Linked DNA regions of Homo sapiens: region 2 is linked to region 1. The links are contacts of gene promoters, found by promoter capture Hi-C in blood cells and fetal thymus (Javierre and others, 2016). All regions are on one chromosome and are shown on one strand. Each heading gives the region's core, a stretch centred on a gene start or on the middle of the fragment in contact. The rest is flanking DNA. Distances are from core to core; before and after follow the strand shown. Region 1 holds the start of PDXP (pyridoxal phosphatase). Region 2 holds the start of IFT27 (intraflagellar transport 27).

Region 1 (3,478 bases), core at 494-2,993:
GTCACAAAGGCCAAATTCAGGTTCCCGCGCTCTATCACTCTGCCAGAGAGTTGCTGGCAGAATTCTGCCCCACCCATCATTGGGGTGCGGTTGGAGGGTTGGAGGGGAAGCCTGCGAGGACTGTCCCTACTTGTGAGGGCTGAAACACCAATTCCCAGAGGCAGGATGGAGGCAGGTGTGTGGGGACACAGGAGGTGGAGGGGCTCACTATATCTGTTCTTGGGCAGCTCACTTCCCTTCTCTTAGTCTCAGTTTCTTTCCTCTTCTTTTAGAGATAAGGTCTCACTATGTTGCCCATGCTGAAGTACAGTGGCTTTTCACAGATGCAATGATAGCACGCTACAGCCTTGACCTCCTAGGCTCAAGCAATCCTCCCGCCTCAGCCTCTCGAGTAGCTGGGACTACAGGCTGTTGCCACTGCATCCGGCTGCCTCAGTCTCTTTACTTGAGAAATGGGACAATAACTTCCATCTCCAGAGTAATTTGGAAACCAAAGAAGAACACACACAAAGCTGTTTCATTAAGTTCTCTGTAACATGGGGGACTCTGGCTACAACTTACATCATCTGAACACCTACTATGTGCCAGGCACTCACCCTGATCACCGTCACCGGGCATGCTGAGCACTGCCATTTCTCACCCAGGCAGAGATGCTTGGAGGTTATGTAACTGAACACGATTACACAGCTGTGAAGCTGGAGCTGGACCTGGAACTGAGGTCAAACTCCACCGCCTTTGCTCCCCACACACCTGCCTACACCCTGCCTCTGGGAATGGTGTTTCAACCCTCACACAGGGGGACAATCCTCCCAGGCTTCCTCTCCAACCCCACCCCGATGGTGGGTAGGGCAGAATTCCGCCCAACTCCCTAAGTTACAAAGGGCCTCAGTTTCCTCATCTGTCCAACAGGGACCACACTGCTGCGCCTCACAGGATGACGGCTACAGGGATCAACCGCCCCCCACACCAAAGCACCCTGGGCCTCCCTCGCACTCTCCTGTTCCCCACCTGCCACCTGGAGACGCCTCTTCCCCGCCCCTCACCCTTAGGCGTGGAGGCGAATGCGCAGGTCGCCCCCATCTCAGTTTCCCCGCCATTCCCGCGCTCACCAGGGGTCCGGCTGCCGTCGCTCAGCGGGTGCCATGGGTCACGGTCGGTGGCCACGAGTAGGCACTCGGGGTCGCGCAGGTGCGCGCACGCCTCCCTCAGCTTGGCGAAGGAGAAGTGCTCGTCGTAGCCCACAAGCACGGCGCGCACGCGCGGGGCCGCGCCGTCCCCCGCGCTCGGGTCCCCGGCCAGGCGCAGCCCCGCGGCGCGCAGCTCGGCGCGCAGCCCCTCGCCGCCCAGCACGAACACGGCGCCCGGCGCGTCCGGAGGCCCGGGCAGGCGCTGGCGCAGCAGGCGCGCGGCGCACAGCGCGGAGCTGAAGAGCTGCTCGGCGCGCAGCCCCCCGAAGCCGAGGCGCGCGAAGCGCAGGGCCAGCTCGGGCCGCGCGCGCCGGCTGTTGTTGCTCACAAACAGAGCCGCCTTGCCGGCCCGCGCCAGCCGCTCCAGCAGCTCCGGGGCGCCCGGCACGGCGCGCTCGCCGTTCCACAGCACCCCGTCACAGTCGAACAGGACCCCCTGCGCCCGGCCCAGCACGTCGCGCAGGGCCGCTCCGCGCAGCCTCTCGCAGCGCGCCATGCAGCCGGCCGGCCGCCGGCCTCCCGCGCCGCGCTCTCTCCGCGGGCACGGCGCGCTCTCCCTGGCACGTTCCACGCAGCCGCCAATTGGCGCGCTGGAAGGACCGGGGGGCGGGGCGACGGCGTGGCCTGCAGCCAATGGGGGCGAGAGTCTGGGAGAGGAGCGAAGCCGCGAGCTAACGGAACTTGGAGAGAGGGGCGGATTCGTGGCCAACACCGAGGGGAAGGGACCAATGAAGAGCTAGCTTGATCCTTCTCCCCGTCCCTGGTTCTGCTGGACCAGTCGCCGCCGAGTTTCAACGCCGACTACACTCTTACGCGGTGGGAGACTGACGCTCTTCTTAACCAATAAGAATCTACAAACAAAACGCGAAGCGAAAGGCCCCGTGCCCTCCAGCCAATCAGAAGCTTAGGCGAGCTGGTTGCTGGGAGAAAAACAGATGTTAAATGAACTGCCTTTGGGTCGAATCTCATTGCCCCCTGAATCGTGGACGCTCCAGTTCAGAGCGAAGTCCCAAGAAACGTGTGTGTACGATGGGGTACGAGGCACATGGTGTCTTCTTGGGTGCTGGAGCCCTCGGTCTAGACCAGTAGTTCTTCACACTGCGTTAGAGTCCCCTGGGAACTTATTTTCAGATATCATTTACATATAGTAAAATGCATAGATCTTAAATGTACAGTTCAATGTCTTGACAAATGCTTTTGAAATCACCGATGTGTAGCAGGACAGATCCTCATGTAAGTGTTTTGGGTGAAGACTGGGCATTTTTTGGTTTGTTGGTTAGTTGGTTTAATTCCAGGGATTCTACCGTGAGCTAGGATAGGGTAGGGAAGCACTGGGCTAGAGGCTGGTAGGCTGTCACTGCAGCACGCCCCGGGAGGGCAGGATCCAGAATGGTCGTGGCCAATTGCCCAGAATAGTAATGGGGTGACCCAGGTTGGCTGGGTCCCTGTCTTAGGGAGGAGGCCTTGTGATCTGGAAGCAACCACAGGTCTTGGGACCTTTGAGGAGCCACTGGTCTGCAGTGTGGGGATGAATGAATTGTGAGCTGTGGTGTCACAGTTTTGAAGTTGTCTGCCAACTTCAGATAAGGCTGTGACCCCCAGGAGCAACTGGAGCTCCAACGACTTGGGAAAAACTGTACCTTGTACCCAACCTTGGAAGCTCAACTAGCTCCTATTCCCCAAGTGCCCTAAGCCTTTTGCTCCTGGCCTTTGCATAGATAGTCTCCTTGGCCTGAATGTTCCTTTTTCCTTTAAAAATTTCACCTTCAGGGCCGGGCTCGGTGGCTCACGCCTGTAATCCCAGCACTTTGGGAGGCTGAGGTGGGCGGATCACGAGGTCAGGAGATCGAGACCATCCTGGCTACGGTGAAACCCCGTCTCTACTAAAAATACAAAAAAAAAAAAAAAAAAAAAGAAAAAAATTAGCTAGGCGTGGTGGCGGGTGCCTGTAGTCCCAGCTACTCGGGAGGCTGAGGCAGGAGAATTGCTTGAACCCAGGAGGCGGAGCTTGCAGCGACCTGAGATCGTGCCAATGCACTCCAGCCTGGGCAACAGAGCGAGACTCCATCTCAAAAAAAAATAAACAAAAAATAAAAAATAAATAAAATAAATAAAAATAAACAAAATTCACCTTCAGGTCAGCTCCTGAAAGACTTCCCTTAAATATCACCTTCTCCAGGAAGCCGTTCTTAACCACCCACCCCATACCATGAGTCTAGGTTATATGGCCACCCCTAACTTGGCTAATATGGGCTCCCAGTGCAATGACACTTGATTTTTTTTGTTTTTGA
Region 2 (3,478 bases), core at 979-3,478, 880 kb after region 1:
CTGAGGCTGGTTCTGGATCTGGCTGACTTGTTGCATGACCTTGGCCTCTCTGTGGCTCTTTCCTTTCTTCAAATGAATGAGAGTTTCCACTTCCCAGGGTCATGGTTTCATACAGGAGAGAGGATGTGAAGTGCTTAGCAGATGCCTCACATCTAATGCTCAATCAACGCAAGTTATTACGGCAAGGAACTCAATAAGTATTTGCTCTTTAGGAAGGGTGAGAAGGAGTTCAAATCCATCTCTGCTACTCACTAGCTAGGTGACCTTCGGTGTTTCACTTAATCTCATTTGGGCCCTAGTTTCCCCATCTATCAAATGGGGATGATACATGGTTATTGTGAATATCAAATGTAAATGTGAAATTAAACTAATTAATCCCTAAAATCACTTAGAACAAGGCCAGCCTTAAGTCTGTGGTCAACATAGGCCAGCTGTGACTATTAGAGCTGCTCAGAAATGGGATAACTCGAATTGCTCAGGAGCCCCCATGGCTCCAAAATTCTCTGACCACCTTAAACCTAGTGACTCTCATTCAGCTTACCTTCAGTCACAGAAATGTATAGAAGGCCCTTGGGTCCATGAGGTGAAGGGGGACAGAATTCACCATACAAGTGTTTACCATCTCTCTAGAAAGTTCTACAATGCTCTTATGATAATGCTGACTAAAATCACACAGAGTAGCAGCAACAAAAGGGAGACAGTGGGTGGGGAACAGAGAACAGCCCTGGGAGGGAGGTGTGATTATTACCTGCAAGAGTTAAAGAAAGAGGCAAGAAACATGAAAAGTGGCTCAACAGTTAAATACAGGTTTATTTTGGAGCATAAACCTGAGAGGGGCTTCTGGCCAATTTCAGTCAGGAGTGCTCTCTCTTACAGACTAAGAGTATTTAAGGGTTTAGGGCAAGAGAGCTTACCACAGGCTTGGAATGTTTCTGTGTGGAGGAGAAGTTTACTGTGGGGTTGGAATGTCTCCGGTCTGAGGGTGGGTTATGTTGGGGCTGACATCTCTCTGACCAGAGGGGAGGTTATCTTGGGGCTGCATGTCTCTGGTCGGGGGGTGGGTTTATCTTAGGGTTGGAATGTTTCTGATTGGAGATGTCACTTGTGGTTTATGGTCATTCTGACATTAGCCATTAGGCTGATGCCCTTTGGGTTGAATTTAGGCCGTTTTTGATCAAGGAGAACTTTAAAATGGCAGTGCTTGTCCAAGATGGCTATGCTCCGGCTCTGTCATTACCCACCTCGCAAAATGAAGGAACCAAGGCTTCGGAGGCTGCCCTGATGTGTGTCTGTGTCTTAGCTACGTGGAGCTGCCTCGGGAGGGTGACTCACCAAATGGGGTCCTTTAAGGGATTAACAGGGTCACTCATGGTGAACAGGTTGGCCTGGAGGGGAGCCGGCAAGAGGAAGGCAGAAGACCAGAAAGAGGCTTTTTGCTCACTCAGACCTGGATGTCTGAGACAGACTCACGTGATGTCACCAAAGAAGAAAAGCAGTTACGAGAAATGAAGGAGAAACAGACCTTTACCGTAGCGCCAGGAATGAATCCCAAGGAAAGAACATCTCAGACAACTTGCATTTACTCTGGATTCGGGGCTGAAACCATCAGCCATTCATAGAGTGTGTGTGTTTATTCCCCCACACAAGGCTGGCAGCCACTCTGAGATGCAGAGTGGCGGAGAGGTGGAATGTTCTAGGTGTCTGGAGGGAATGTGGAACTTTCGCACAGGCACCTTTGCTGAGGGGCTGCTCTTCCCTTCAGCATCAGCCATCAGAATCCCAGGGGCCCTGAGAAAGTGAGAACAAGGGGTACATTCGGCCAACCAGTGACAGTGATGATAAACCAAATCTGTCCAGATAAGCTTCCGCTCTCCCATCCACCCCACAATCACGTGTGCACCTACTATCTCCCAGGCACTCATACGTTTCTCTCCTTCCATCTCCACAACCACCCCACAAGGCGGGTTCTCCTAGGCCCATCCTGAGGCTGAGGGATGAGGTGACTTGTCCAGGCCAGGGATTTAGGTCTCTGACCCCCTAACCACGTGCAAGAGGCACCCCCAACCCAGTAAACGCGTACAGAGAGCCTCCCTGGGTGACGGGCAAACGAGGTTAGTGATGCATTCTCCTTTTGCAGAGAGTAAATGGACTAAGAGCAAAGTACGACTTCAAGTTTCCGAGTCTCACCGCTTAGCCCCATCAAAGTGTATTTGTTCTCCCTTTGTTCACAAACATCACTTTAATAAAACACCTTCATATTTTAGATTTTAACGCTCATTACATCTTTGAGCTTTTAAAATGAGATTTCCCTGCGGGATGCGGGGCAAGGACTGCACTTCTCCATGCACTTTAATAGCCGCGCTGTGCAGAACCCGGGAACCGGGGAAGCCGCGAGAACCGCGCGAAGTCAGAGCAAGTCAAAACGACCTCTACAGCGGCGGCCTGGCCCACTGCGCAGGCGCCGCTCCAGACCGCCTAGAGCCCAACCTGCCCCATTGTAGGCGAACCCACTTCTAGAAGGACAGCGGGAGTGGCGAATCCCTATTCCTCCCGAAGATGGGTCAAGCCAGACTCTGACCAATCAGAAAGCTTCTCTTGTCACCGCTTCTGACTGCTTGACGTGGAGGCTTCTTTATCTCGGGACTCTCAGGCGCAGCGGGGGCGGGATATAAAGCTGGTTGACGTCAATTACAACCACTCGTCAAGCAGACTGAACTTGAAGAACTGATAACTCTACGAATTGCATCTCAAGAAAAGGCTGTTATCCCAGCTCTCTACTCCCATTGGATTTTTGTGAGACCTTGAGGGTGGGAGCTTTTGGCGGCAACCAATCGAGGGTCAGCGAGGAGGAGGAGGAGGCGGGGCAGGTGGGCTATGGTTGCTTGGAGAGTGCATCCGGCCCGGTACTTGTGATCGGAGGAGAGCCGGATCGTCCTTCCTTGAACCCTCTGGGTAGGGCTGTGCTGAGGGGCTGGGCGGGGAGCACAGGCCGTGTCCGCTCGCTTGCACCTTTTCAGACTGCCGTGTCAGGCCTCGAGCCGGGCCCACCTGGAGCCCTCCCCTGCCCACCCGCCCCCAGCGCCCGATATCCGCCCCCGGCCCAGAAGGGCCGGGCTCGGTCATCCCCAGTCCCGTCGCGGCCACTGACCCTTGAGATCAGCCCTCCCCTCCCCACCTTCCCGTCCCAGGCCAGCCCAGGGCCCGAAGCCCACCCACTCGCGTCTCTAGCAGCCGCTCTTGTCCTCTGGGTACGGCTCGCGGGAGTGTTGGTTACCATGGTGAAGCTGGCAGCCAAATGCATCCTGGCAGGTGAGTCTGAAAACTTGCGCTTGAATACGGTGGTCTCTGGAGTCCAGAGCCTTCATAATTCATCCAGAGCTTTTGTTCACCTAAATTGCCTACCTTTTCCTTTCTCTCTCCCAAAGGCGAGTTACTGCAATTACTGATACAGTAAATTACGTTAGGCGTGGAAGAATGA

What was found. Contacts are between HindIII fragments. The CHiCAGO score rates a contact against its expected background, and 5 or more counts as called.
Region 2: a contact is called between a fragment that was not itself captured here and the fragment with the promoter of PDXP in region 1, in 1 of 17 cell types (fetal thymus). The highest score is 7.6, in fetal thymus.

What each region holds. Positions count from the first base shown.
Region 1 is chr22:37,656,988-37,660,465 of GRCh38, reverse strand. PDXP (pyridoxal phosphatase) reads right to left here and starts at 1,743. Exons shown (of 2, transcript NM_020315.5): 1 at 1,110-1,743. The coding sequence starts at 1,683. PDXP-DT (PDXP divergent transcript) reads left to right here and starts at 2,089. Exons shown (of 6, transcript NR_109952.1): 1 at 2,089-2,211. RefSeq lists enhancers at 1-28, 29-540, 1,367-1,868, 2,057-2,106, 2,117-2,186 and silencers at 1,247-1,356, 1,557-1,866. The HindIII fragment of the contact is 9,798 bases long and covers 1-2,092 here.
Region 2 is chr22:36,775,505-36,778,982 of GRCh38, reverse strand. It overlaps IFT27 (intraflagellar transport 27), which reads left to right and starts at 2,864. Exons shown (of 7, transcript NM_001177701.3): 1 at 2,864-3,309. The coding sequence starts at 3,276. RefSeq lists enhancers at 1,472-2,035, 2,563-2,822, 2,601-3,164 and silencers at 3,063-3,112, 3,243-3,302. The HindIII fragment of the contact is 727 bases long and covers 1,865-2,591 here.